2 separate regions of the Homo sapiens genome follow, and region 1 is linked to region 2. Evidence: promoter capture Hi-C in human tissues and cell types (Jung and others, 2019). All regions are on one chromosome and are shown on one strand. The core of a region is centred on a gene start or on the middle of the fragment in contact, and the rest is flanking DNA. Distances in the headings are between cores, read along the strand shown.

Region 1 (7,187 bases), core at 4,544-7,043, 750 kb after region 2:
TTCAGTGGGCACTTGGGTTCTGTGCCCTCTAGGTCTTCAGGAATACCTTGTGTTGACTTCCTGGCTTAACTGGGACAACTGTTTCTTGAGCTTTGGGCCCTATAGGCCCTTCTGTCTAGGACCAACCTCAAATCTACTTTCCCCTCTTATACCCCAAATCTTCATCAACTATTTCTCTATAACCTTAGTTAATTTTTCCACTTCTTCTTCAGTTTGCCTGATAGCAACAGGACCCATGTGATCTGGGGTACCAGTAAGGTGAGCCATTGCTTTCTCTCCTTGGCTAGGGAAGGAGGAGGAGCCAGGAATAGAAGGCAGACAAAACACTTGTTCCTGTTCCTGCTTTTCTTCCTCTAGGATTTTGGCATCTCTGGCTTCCGCTTTGGTGCTCTGTATACCCACAACAAGGAGGTGGCCTCTGCTGTGAGTGCCTTTGGCTACCTCCACAGTATTTCTGGCATCACCCAGCACAAGCTGTGTCAACTGCTCCAGAACACAGGTACTGAGCTCTAGCACAGACCAGCATGTTGGCTGGACCTCATGGCCATGGGGAATTCTTGGATTTGCTTGGGCCTCTGATGTGCCCTTAATATACTGAGACCCTATTTCCTGTCTCAGATTTAACTGTGGTAAGATGTGAGGTTTGAAGGAGGGCAAGATAGGGCAGATAACACAGCAGGGTGTAGGCAGAAGATGGAGGTGCTGTTTTAAAATACAGGATGAGGCCGGGCATGGTGGCTCACGCCTGTAATCCCAGCACTTTGGGAGGCCGAGGTGGGCGGATCACTTGAGGCCAGGAGTTTGAGACCAGCCTGGCCAACAAGGTGAAACCCGGTCTCTACTAAAAATGCAAAATTAGCCAGGCATGCTGGCAAACGCCTGTAATCCCAGCTACTTCGGGGGCTGAGGCAGGAGAATCTCCTGAACCCAGGAGGCAGAGATTGCAGTGAGCCAAGACAGCGCCATTGACTCCAGTCTGGGTAGAAAAAGTGAAACTCTGTCTCAAAAAACAAAAACAAAAAACTACAGGATGAGCTTTAATTTCTGGATGTCTGGTAGCTTGTGTTCTACCCAGATGTGGGATGGCTAATCGTACTCTAAGTTGTGAAGGTAGGAACTTCAGAAATTAGTCTTTATGTGAATATAGATTTTCCCTCCCCAAAACTCTGTTTGCTTTAGACAAAGATTATAAAACCAAAAACAACACAAACACTCTGATTCTTCTAATACAACATAATCTCATCTTCCAAGGTGGCCAGAGGAGAGCTGCCATTTGGGCAGGTTGGTGTGGCTAGGCCTGTGGTACCTAGATTCATCGTCCCCTTGCTTGGATCTCAAGTGAATGCTGGCCTCAGAAGGGACTTTCCCCTTTAAAGCCATGGCCCAAGCTTAGAGACTCACTTTCTTTAGTTCCCTGTAATAGAACAGATACCAAGCTGAAAGTTTTAATTAATAGCTGGGATATAATGAAACAAACTGATGTCATTATATTTGCTGATTTAGAAAACAATTTGCTTTCAGCTCTGGGAGGGGAGAGAGGTAGATAGGAGAAATCCAACTGAATGCTTCCCTAGATATCAAGACCTTTGATACTTGGCAGAAACCAGATCCCAGCCCCTTGAACGCTAGTCCTCAATCTTGGATGGACGTGGGAGTTTCCCAGGGAGCTTAAATACTGACGTGTGTTCCATCTTCAAAGATCCTGATATAGCCTGAGCATCAGGGCTTCTAACAGCTCCCCAAGTGGTTCTGTTCTATGAATGCAGAGGGCAACTGGCCAAGAGCATCCCCAGGCACACATATATTCCTCCGACTCCATTGTATGAGGCTCAAATTCGGGTGGTAGGAGCTGCGAGTCCCTGCTGCTTGCCCAGTTAACAACAACAGCATCAACCCCTATTAGGGGATTGACTCCTTGCCTCAGGGCTGTGAACTCAAAGAGAACTTTCCTACTAGACCTTTGAGAAGCCCAGTGTCTCTACCAGAGCCTTAGATAAGAGGTGGGTGTATCAGGTGTGGACACCATCAGCTCAAACATACTAGAGTTAGTCTTAGAAATAGCTTGCAGGGTGCAGTGGCTAACACCTAAAATCCCAGCACTTTGGGAGGCAGAGGCAGGTGGATCACTTGAGGCCAGGAGTTTGAGACCAGCCTGGCCAACATGGTGAAACCCCATCTCTACTAAAAATACAAAAATAAGCTGGGTGTGGTGGCGTACGCCTGTAGTGCCAGTTACTTGGAAGGCTGAGACATGAGAATCACTTGAGCCAAGGAGGTGGAGATTGCAGTGTGCCGAGATTGTGCCACTGCACTCCAGCCTGGGTGACAGAGGGAAACTCTGGTTTTTTTGTTTTTTTTAAAAACAGACAAACAAAACAAAAACAAACAAACAAACTTGCATGAAGCCCAGGAAGGGAGCATTTGGGAAGGAACTCTCGGTAGATTTCTGTAGTAATATCTGTGACAGTGTTTTTCCTCTACCCATCCAGAATGGATTGACAAAGTATACCTACCCACCAATTGCTACCGGCTCCGGGAAGCTCACAAGTACATCACTGCTGAGCTGAAGGCATTGGAGATCCCTTTTCACAACCGCAGCTCTGGCCTCTATGTCTGGATCAACTTGAAAAAGGTGTGTTCTGGGAATGAGGACAGGTGTTCTTGGGCAGACCTGCCAGCTGGGTCTTGGGCTCAGTTCTGTTCCTCTGCCCTCCCTAGTACCTGGATCCCTGTACATTTGAAGAAGAACGGCTCCTCTATTGCCGCTTCCTGGACAACAAGCTATTGTTATCCCGTGGCAAAACCTACATGTGTAAGGAGCCAGGCTGGTTCTGCCTCATCTTTGCAGATGAGCTCCCCCGGCTAAAATTGGGTGAGTGGAGCTGACCTCCCAATCCTTTAAAGACGCCCCATCAATTTAATATGTCAATCTTCTCCCCCACCCCCCTTAAACATCCTATAGATCTAGCCCTTTATTCCCTGTTTCCATGTCTATCTTTAGTTAGGTGCTCTTGCAAACAAGAACTGATATGTACCTCAAGCACCTATCCATTCATTACCCATTTGGGGTATCTGTTCTGTGACTGCCATTGAGTGAGGCATTGGGACCACAAGCTAAAAAGTAGTACTCTGAGGCCAGGTGCGGTGTCTTATGCCTGTAATCCCAGCACTTTGGGAGGCCGAGGTGGGTGGATCATGAGGTCAGGAGTTCCAGACCAGCCTGGCCAGCATGGTAAAACCCTGTCTCTACTAAAAATACAAAAAATTAGCCACGCATGGTGGCGCACGCCTGTAATCCCAGCTACTCGGGGGGCTGAGGCAGGAGAATTGCTTGAACCTGGGAGGTGGAGGTTGCAGTGAGCTGAGATTGCGCCACTGCACTCCAGCCTGGGCGACAGAGTGAGACTGTTTCAAGAAAACAAAAACAAACAAACAAAACCCGAAAAAAGTAGTACTCTGCCCTTGTGGGACTGGCAGCCTAGTAAGTGAGATGGATAGGCAGATGACCATGGAAGTCCCTGTATGCCATACTAGAGAGTTTAGATTCTCCTCTGAGGTTATAGAGAATAGGACATTCATGTGAACATTTATTTATTGCATTCCACTACATGCCAGATGCTGTTCTACCTGCTGGGAATATAGCAGTGAATTGTTCATTCTCATGAAGGTTTTTGTTACAGAATTCTTTTGAGCTAGCATAGAAGATAGGCTGAGTGAAGAGACACTAGAGGCAAATAGAAATCCTGATTAGGCCAAGGCCATAAGCCCGAGAGTACAGGCTTTGATACAAGACATTGAGATGTCTCGCAGGCTGACATAACAATGATATTCAAAAAGAAATCAGGGATGCAACATGTAGACTTGGAAATCCATCCCAAAGGTGGGAGGGCTGAAGTTCAGGATCCCTGAATGAGAGGCTTTTATGGTTGACCATGACCTGGGTATGTCTGGGACCCACCAGCAAACCTACTAAATCACTATTTCTCTCTGTCCCCATTTGAACCCTCTAGCTATGCGTCGGTTCTGTGATGTGCTGCAGGAGCAGAAGGAGGCTTTGATAGTGAAGCAGTTGGAGGATGCAATGAGGGAGTAGGCCGTCTGCCTCCCAACCAGCAGTTCCAGCCCATCACTTGCTCAGGGACCCCCTAATGTCAGCCTCTGGCCCAGAAGGCCAGGGTGTCTTTTTGTCAGTGTTGCGATGGAGAAAATGGTGGGCTCCTCCAGGAAGATCTCATCTTACCCGGTTGTCACCCTCCTTAAGCTGAGTGCCTGCTGTCTTTGGAAGCTTTCCATCTTTTTAGTCTTTGCTAGCCATTATATATGCAAAATGTTTTTATCGGGGTTGGGGTGGAAAGGCCTAGAGACACCTAGAGAAATAAAGGGAGTTCTCTGGGCCCCTATTTAGATGGTTTATTTTTATATTCAGTACCTAATAAATTCTATACTTTTAAATTCTAGGCCCATCTTATTTTCTTGCTTATATTCTTCATAATCATCTTTGGAAGCCAGATGATTTTCTGTCCTCCTTAATTTTTAAATTCTAAGGCAGGTTCTATGTAAAGAATACTGTCTAGAGCAGGCCAGAAAAAGAAAGAAGTCATCCTTAACTGATGGGCCATTTTCCAGGTGTTGGATGCAATGTTCTATAAGATTCTTATGAAATCACATCCACTTCCACATGACCTGCTAAGAGGCAGGTGGGAGTATAATTGCAGGTATTCCTGCTTCCAAATACTAGAGTTTGTTCCACTTTTACCTTCCCAAAAGGCTTTTAAAGTCTCTTGCTGGGTACGGTGGCTCATGCCTGTAATCCCAGCACTTTGGGAGGCTGAGGCCAGAGAATGGCTTGAGGCCAGGTGTTTGAGACCAGCCTGAGCAACCGAGACCCTGTCTCTACAAAAAATAAAATTAGCTGGGTGTGGTGATGTGTGCCTCTAGTCCCAGCTATTCAGGAGGCTGAGGTGGGAGGCTCGCTTAAATCTAGGAGACCAAGCCTGCAGTGAACCATATCGTGCCACTGCATTCCAGCCTGGTTATAGAGTAAGACCCTGTCTCTACAAAAAAGAAAAAAAAATCTGACAAGCTTGGTGTCTTAGTCCCTTCATAATATGAAAATATCACAAAGTGGATGGCTTAGAAACAAATCTTTCTCACAGTTCTGGAGGCTGGAAAGGCCGAGTTCAAGGCCCTGGGAGATTTGGCATCTGGTGAGGGTCCCATCTTCCCAGTGTCATCTCATGTGGCAGAAGAGGTGAGAGGTCTTCCTCTGCCTTCATGACCCAATCACTTTTCAAAGGGCTCACCTTCTAATACCATCACCTTGGGGGTTAGGATTTCAAATATGAATGTTGGGGGGACACATTCAGTTCGTAGCATCTGGGGTTGTCCATTTCCATTTCTAATGTTTTCAGCTGTTCAAATTAAGCCACCCATCAGTTTCTCTGCAAAGCCCTTGCATGTCAGAGCACTGATACTGTGAAGTGGGCAGAGAAGGGACTACTACGATTTTATGGATGAAGAAAGAGCTCACAGTACCAACTGGTGGCTTTAGTCGCTTGGGTTTGTGGCCGTACTTGCTCCGAATCCAAATTTGTTTATTCTTGTCAGTTTTCTTGTGTGTGTGTGTGTATGTGTGTGTTTTTGTTGTTGTTGTTGTTGTTGTTGTGAGACTGAGTCTCACTCTGTCGCCCAGGTTGGAGTGCAGTGTCACAATCTCGGCTCACTGCAACCTCTGCTGCTGGTTCAGCGATTCTCCTGCCTCTGCCTCCCAAGCAGCTGGGACTACAGGCACGTGCCACCTCGCCCAGCTAATTTTTATATCTTTAGTAGAGACAGGGTTTTACCATGTTGGCCAGGCTTGTCTCAAACGCCTGACCTCAAGTGATCCGCCTGCCTCGGCCTCCCAAAGTGCTGGGATTACAAGCTGAGCCACCGCTCCTGACCGATATAGCTCTTTTTAAAAAACCTCTAGTATAACGTTGAATAAAAGTGGTTGAGAGGACAGCCTGCCTTGTTCTCAGTCTTAGTAGCATTGAGTGCAATCTTCTGCTCTTGAGTATAACGTTACTGTATTTTTCATTCTGTCCCTTATCTAATAAAGAGTCCTTCTATTACTAGTTTGCTGGGAGTTTTACCATGTATGAGGGTTCAATGTTGTTAGATGTTTTTCATCTGCATTTATAGAGATATGATTTTTCTCTTGATTATCAATGTAGTAAGTTACATTGATTTCTTAATGTTAAAGCAACTTCACATTGCTGCAATAAACCCCATTTGGTCATGATGCATTGTCCTTTTATATACCATTGAGTTTGGTTTGCTATTTTAAGAAGTTTACATTCAAGAAGGACATCATTCTATAATTTTTTTTTTTGTAATGCATTGTTAGTTTCAGTATCATGATTAATACTGGTTTCATAGATGTTTGGGAAACTGTTCCTTCCTGAATTTTCTAGAAGTTTGTGTCCAAAAACTTCTTCAACCTTTAAATATTTGGTTGAATTCAGCTGTAAAACCATAAGGGCCTGGAGGTTTTTTTTTTCTTCTTTTTTTTTTTTTGTGGGACGGCTTTTACTTATAAATTCAATTTCTGTGACAGTTCGAGTTTTCTATTTCTTGTATCAGATTTGGTTATTTGTGCCTTTCAATAAAGTTTGTCTATTTCATCTAAGTTTAATTATTGACTTAAAATTGGTTATAAATATTCTGTTATCCTTTTAATACATTTAGGATCTTTAGTTGTATCTCCTTTTCCTTTCCTGATACTGAAATTGATACATGCAGGAGGGGGATTACGGGGAGGGTCTCCGGAGAATCTCCAACCCATCTGTGCACTGGGAGAACAAGATGGAGCCAAGGGAAGCTGTGGCCATGCTCAGCGGGGAGGAGCCTGGCCTCTTCAATTTCTGTGTGGTGGCCTGGGATTCAATGTGAGTTTGGAGGCCTGTTAGCAGGACCCCCTCTTGCTCTGCTGACAGTATTTTTCTTTTTTCCTTTTTGCCCAGTAAATTCCGTTCCCCTCACCCTTCAATGTGTCCATGTTCCTAATCCTTCCTGGTGGTGTGACAAGAACCCGGTTTTAGCTGAACTAAGGAGCAAAATTCTGCAACAAAATGAGTTTTTTTGATCAGTCAATCTAACTGTTTATCAACTGTATTGAACTTTTCAAAGAACCAACTTTCAGTTTC
Region 2 (7,036 bases), core at 176-2,675:
CTGGCTAATTTTTGTATTTTTAGTAGAGACAGGGTTTCACCATGTTGACCAGGCTGATCTTGAACTCCTGACCTCAAGTGATCCACCCAACTCAGCCTTCCAAAGTGCTGAGATTACAGGCGTTAGCCACCGCACACGGCTATATATATATATAATATTATTATATAAATATAATTATCTTAATATATAAATATATATTATTATCTTAATATATATAATATATATTATTATCTTAATATATATAATATATTATTATCTTAATATATATTATTATCTTAATATATAATTATATAATAATATACAATATATAATATATATTATATATATAATTGTATATATAATATAATATATAATATATATTATAATATTAATATCATAATATTATATATGATATATAAATATAATAATATATTAATATATATTAAGATAATAATATTAATATATTAATTATATAATTAATATATTATATATAATATAAGATAATTATAATATATAATTGATAATATTGATATATTAATTAATATTATATCTCAATATATAGATATATTATAATTATATTATATAATTAATGTATTAATTAATATTATTATCTTAATATATATTAATATAATATTATTATATTTATATTATATATTATATATTTATATATTAATATAATATTATTATATTTATATTATATATTATATATTTATATATTAATATATAATGTTATATATTATATAATATATAATATTATATATTAATATATAATATTATATATTATATAATATATAAAATTATTATATATTAATATATAATGTTATATATTATATAATATATAAAATATTATATATTATATCATATTATATATATAATTTCATTTAAACTTGTATCTTAGAAATTCTTATCAGTAAGCGTACGTGATTTCATTTATTTATTATTCTTTTGGATACTGGACATAATCAGGTGGCCCCAATTCTTTACACTGGCAGCAAAGATAAGCAAATTCTTCCAGCAGGCCAAATTTGACCCCGCACTTGATGAGCGTGGTGGACACAGAGGGTTTTTTAATAGCATAGGAATGTTTTTTGCTTCCCACCGGACCCACTAGCCTCTAGTGCCACCGATTAATATTACCTTCCTTGAATCAGGAGGAAACCATTTGTGACTTCTCATATGTAAGATCTTCTAAGGGCAGAAACGCAATTGTCTTTGTATTCACTTCCCCGCCCACCCACACCCCTTCCATGGAGAGCCTGCAGCCAAGCTCAAGCTTTCAAAAAGGCGTGAGCTAATTCAATCATCCTTGCCGCTTTTTTGCTCCTCCAGGCTGTAGAGGGCGACAAAAACCGCGGAGGCGCATTGGGGTGGGGGGTGTCTACTGAAGGCCGCTCCCGACGTGCGCGTCTTTACGTAGACGTCGGGGGCGCAGCCGCGCTGTGCGCGGTGACTGGCGGCTGCACTGGCGGCAGCTGGAGGTGTAATAGTGCGGGTAGTGGGTTTGGAGAAGTTCCGAGGCGGCGGTGGCGCCGGTCAGGACAAGGATAGCGGAACCGGGCCCTGGGCTTGTCGCTCACCATGCCGACAGTAGAGGAGCTTTACCGCAATTATGGCATCCTGGCCGATGCCACGGAGCAAGTGGGCCAGGTGAGTTGAGTCCCCGGGCGGCCTGCAGGGCCTGGCGCTCCGCGGCCTTTCGAAAGCGCTTCCCGCCGCACTCCCCGGGCCGAGCGGGGGCTGCGGCTTCATCCTCCCGGGGCCTCCTAGCCTCCTCAGGCCGTCTCGTCGGGGTGGGCCTCTCTGGGAGTGTAGACTCTGGTTTCACCAGGGAGACCGCGGTCCCCAGGGTTCCAGGCTTCCTTGCCTCCCTTGCCCAGCCTTTTCTCACCGTGGCGTAACCTAACTCAGCCCGTTCAGGCTCACGTTAATTCTTCTCACGGAGCTTTTCTCTACAGGATTCTCTTAAGCCTTTCTCCTTTTCGGTGGAGCTCAGTGCTTCCAAGATTAGATCGGGAGTTTTCTTCATGAGGTCAAGATGTGTTTTTTTTGGGGGGGAGGCAAAATTCTGCTACTAATTGAAGAAGAGTGTTTAGGAGACAGAAGTTTGTGAGAAACAGAAGAGGGACTCTTTGGTCCAGACTTTGATGAGAGCTCACGGTTTCATTTATTCAGTGCATTTTTTTGAGTGCCGAGCGCTGGAGATACAGATGGAAAGGTCCGCGCTCTCCCAGAATGTACAGTTAGGAGGGAGTGTAGTAAGAAAGATAGGCATTGTGAGGCCCGGCTTGGTGGCTCACGCCTGTAATCCGAGCACTTTGGGAGGCCGAGGCGGGCGGATCACGAGGTCAGGAGTTCGAGACCAGCCTGACCCACATGGTGAAACCCTGTCTCTACTAAAAATACAAAAATTAGCCGGGCGTGGTGACACGCGCTTGTAATCCTAGCTACTCAGGAGGCTGAGGTGGGAGGATTGCTTGAACCCGGGAGGCAGAGGTTGCGGTGAGCCGAGATCGCTTCACTGCACTCCAGCCTGGGAGACAAAGCAAGACCCCGTCTCAAAAAAAAAAAAAAAGGTTTTTTTTAAAAATTTATTCTTTTTAATGAAACATGTTTGAAGAAAATAAAACAGGGCTGGGCGAAGGAGAGTGTGAGTGCGCAGCTCTGAATGGAGTTGTCTGGAAGAGCTCTCTTAACGATGCTTGCCCCCGATACACAGTTTCTCAGCAGTGTTGAATTATCCATACAAGTCATTTGTTCCCTGTATGAGTTTTCAAGTACTGGAGTACATTGAACTTGATAAGTGGTTGGGTATGTGTGTTCTTGGGAAAAGAACCAGGCTCTCCTGGAGGTAACCTTGATCATTGTTTTAGAAATCCCACACCATAGCTTTTCAGCGCTTAGAACTTTGTGATTTTTCTGCTTACGCATCCCTTCTTGGAGAAAGTGGAAGATTCTAGTCTATTAACAGTCGTGGGAGTACCTTTCCCGTCCCCTTTTCTTAACATAATTCAAATAGGACTTTTCTGAGCTGAACGAAAAAAAAAAAATTTCATGTTGGAGATTTATTGTAGCTTAATCTAGAATTAAGAATATACCAGTTTGAAATAGCAAATGATTTTTTTTCCTTCATTCCCTGTCAGTAGGGAATTTCACTTTTATCAGTAAGAAATGTATACGGATGTTCTGCTGTACATGTGGATAGAGTGTGTAGGTCGGTTGTGAAGGAGGAATATTCTGTTCATTAAGAAGGTAAAAACTGCCAGGCACGGTGGCTCACGCCTGTAATCCCAATTCTTTAAGGGGCGTGGATGGGCAGATCAGTTGAGATCAGGAGTTCGAGACCAGCCTGGCCAACATGGTGAACCCCCATCTCTACTAAAAATACAAAAATTAGCCAGGCGTGGTGGCATGCGCCTGAAGTCCCAGCTATTTGGGAGGCTGAGGCAGGACAATTGCTTGAACCCGGAGGGTGGAGGTTCCTGTGAGCTGATATCGGGCCACTGCACTCCAGCCTGGGCAACAGAGCAAGACTCCATCTCAAACAAAAAATTAAAAAAAAAAAAAGATACAAACTATGTGTGGTCAATCAGTTTGAATTTGTTGTTCCTAAAAAGAACTAGTAGTGAAGATATTCTCAATCGTATAATTTATCTGTGACTTAGTTGGGTAACTTTGTAGCAAATTGTTCTACCTACGTTAGACTTTGTTGCATATCAGTAGGGGGATAGGGTGAAAGCTACAACAGTGGTTGTGTCAGGAATCCTTCTAAGAAACCTTTGAAACCGTATACATAATGCTGTCCATCCCCTACTCTAATTTTGAGAGTTGCTTGCATTTCCTTCTCATGTCATCTTTATAAAAACCAGATTGAATTGAGAGTTCTCCCCAAGGGGTCAAAATGTCTTTCACAGCAAAAATCTACTCTTTATTTAGTAAGGGTACTTTAGAGACAAGTTTGTGAAAAATGAAAAAGGATACCTTTGTCTACACTTTAATGAGGACTCCATGCTTTATTCCGTACATTTCACCTACCATGTACCACACACCCGGCTGGACACTGAAATTTAACACAATTCTCTGTAGGTTATGGGTGATCAATGCGTTCTGTATTGACAACTGTCAAGCAACTATTTAAACAGTATCTCTGCATAATGAGATGTAGTGGTTAGCTCAGGCAGCTCAAATATTGTGAATTGTAGGAAAACCGAAGATAATGCCTACTAATTCTGCTCTGTTGGGTTATACTTCTCCCCTTTTAGATAAAATGCCTAAAATCACTTACTAAAAAAGACAGTAGGTTTTAGGATATTGCTTGTAATTTTAACTAACAAAGGCAAAAGCCACCTTAGTAGAGAGGACACCATTTCACTTGTTTTTAAGGAGAGAAAACCGTGTTCATGTTCTTGATGTAGCAAAGCCTGATTTTCATGTCAACTTATGAGAGATTTATGATCAGTACTAAGTTTCCTGGCAAATACCTGTCTGGATACTTCTGAGACTGCATTCAAGTTTGTCAGTCTTGACTTCCTTCTAACTTTTACTTTGATTATCAACCTTTACCAGAGAGGTGAGCACTACAGGTGTTCTGATTGCTGCCACTACAGACTATTCCCTCCCCATTATTGTCAATACTCCTTTCAGAGTAGTGCCTTCTAAATATATAAGGGTAAACTTACAAGCCGTCTGAGGTTTTATCGGCTAATTTCCCCAAAGCAGATCAAATCCTCTTTTTGAACCCCTTGGTACGATGTACTTACTAATAATGCTTCAGACTTGTATTTTATTTTATTTATTTCTGTACTTAAATTATAACGTCTCAAGGGTTAAATCCTTTTATGTATTTATTTATTTATTTATTTATTGCTTCTCTTCTTGCACTGTACCTTGCCCTTCAGTAAGCATTTCTTTTTCATAGTTGAAGAAATGTATTGGAAGAAGGAACAGAGAAACCATTTACAAAAGAAAAGAAAAACCATTTACACAGATTATCTCTAATGGATAAAGGGAACTTTATCATACACACACACATACATACATATATGAGCATGTATATTCTAATAAGCAAACTGCAGATGACAAATTCTAAGTGCAGAATTATTTAATACCTCAAATCTTCCAGTCCTATCATCTTCTCATGTAACTGCCATGTTCTGCCTATGCGTTCATCCTGCCTTTCCCCCACTCTGCCTCTGCTACTCCTTCAGGTCTCACTCTTCTCTTGTGTGCTCCTTTACCTTTCTGATCTCCTTTTCCACTGTACTCTGCCCAGGGCTCCTGACTAGCCATAATAGAGCAAGCTGTGGCCCACCATTATTTAAAATTCTGTTTCAAATTATTATGAATTTACTTACTTTAAATATAGATACTTAATTTTATATTATGTAGTCAAAATCTTAAAAGTTAAAAAATGTATCCGACACCTGTTAAAGGACCATGGCAGTGGGGCTGATTAGATCTGTATAATGCTGAAACCCTGATTCCTCCTGTTCTCTCAATCATTGAGTATACTAGCTTTGCAGGGTTGGCGTGTAGGCTTCTTGGACTTTTATTTCATGAAATAACCACTCTTGTAGTAGGGTTTTTTGTATGATTAAGCTAAAACCACTGACCAACCAAGTTCGTAATCCCTCAAAAATATGTGGAAATATTTATTTCACTTCTCTGAGCCCTAGTTTCCTCATCTAAAAGATAAGAATAGTAGTAACACCTATTGTGATATAGACAAGGAATCACTCAGTCCCTGGTAGACCTTCAATAAATATTGTTAATGATTCCTTTTTATTTGATTCCAGATTTAATATTTTTTTCTTGGCAAAAGGAAGTTTTGTTTTAAGCAGGGTTTTTTTTTTTTCATTTAATTTTGGACAGTGTAAGGAGTTTCTTCAAATGGCTTTATGAGTAAGTTTGAGTTAAAGAAAATTAGATTTGTGATACCCTGCAAAAAGTAAGGGTGTCAGAACAAACTTTGATTTTATGAAGCCTGCCTAGAAGTCTGAGGCAAACCACAGGAATGTAAAGTGGTAGAGAAGTCAGCATGATTTCTTTTTTTAATGTTTGCGGTGAAAAGTATGTCATATACCTTTCTTTCTTTGAGACAGGGTCTTGCTCTGTCAGGCTGGAGTGCAGTGGCGCGACCACAGCTTACCACAGCCTCTAACTCCTGGGCGCGACCATGGCTTACCACAGCCTTTATCGCCTGGGCTCAAGTGATTCTCCTCCCTCAGCCTCTCCAGTAGCTGGGACTGCAAGCACACACCACCATGCCTGGTTAATTTTATATTTTTTGGAGAGACAGGGTCTTGATGTGTTTATAATACACTTTTCAGTGATGACTCCTGAAGACTCATATATCTGCATTTCATGAAGAAGTTAACCTTATTCACAGAAATTTCTGTTATTTGGGAGTTGTTCTGTAACTTTGCATCCTGCTTTATTTTTTCACTTAACATAGCATTATCAACAAAAAAGAATCACTGTAAAATAAATTTGGTAATTCTGTAGTTCATTGGATATTTATTGGTCATTCCCCGCTTGATGGCATGAAGTAAGCTCATGTGTCTAAAGCACTTAGAACACTCCTTATACATAATAAATACTATACTGTGTATATGTTTGGTCAAGATTATAATTTTTAAGTTGTTTTTCCAGTTACTAAGTTTTATTCATATGTCCAAACAATATATATGTGTAGTCTTTCTGTATTTGTTACTGTTATTTACCATCTTTATCAGTGTCATTTCATAAAAGGACTGGTTTGGAGGCAAGTACTTAAGGAGGATTGGGAACTTATTGATTCCTCCCATTATGAGTATTTGAGGGAGAGCACCTGTGATTTTTTTTTTTAAGGAAACATGAGCTTTGAGTGTATTGTTCCAATAAAAGGTTTAAACATGTGACATTAGAGTCCGTCTTAATCCAAAATTGTCTGGCTATATGGAGTGAATTGTCATGGCTTTCATATACTGCTATGAGGTAAAATTAAACTGCACTTCCTAACATTGCTGGAATTGCTAAATTTCTGGAATGTATTCCCTTCACCTTCTTCAAGGTGCTAATT

What was found. Contacts are between HindIII fragments. The study calls those that stand out against the background at their distance.
Region 1: a contact is called between a fragment that was not itself captured here and the fragment with the promoter of API5 in region 2, in 1 of the 25 tissues and cell types used here (spleen).

The regions. Positions count from the first base shown.
Region 1 is chr11:44,055,828-44,063,014 of GRCh38, forward strand. ACCSL (1-aminocyclopropane-1-carboxylate synthase homolog (inactive) like) reads left to right here. Exons shown (of 14, transcript NM_001031854.2): 10 at 213-258; 11 at 358-499; 12 at 2,490-2,632; 13 at 2,719-2,872; 14 at 4,011-4,150. The coding sequence ends at 4,093. Among named protein-coding and RNA genes, the nearest start is that of ACCS, 6.8 kb to the right of the region's middle. The HindIII fragment of the contact is 5,915 bases long and covers 2,837-7,187 here.
Region 2 is chr11:43,310,571-43,317,606 of GRCh38, forward strand. It overlaps API5 (apoptosis inhibitor 5), which reads left to right and starts at 1,426. Exons shown (of 14, transcript NM_001142930.2): 1 at 1,426-1,626. The coding sequence starts at 1,558. RefSeq lists an enhancer at 1,179-1,954. The HindIII fragment of the contact is 16,603 bases long and covers 1-7,036 here.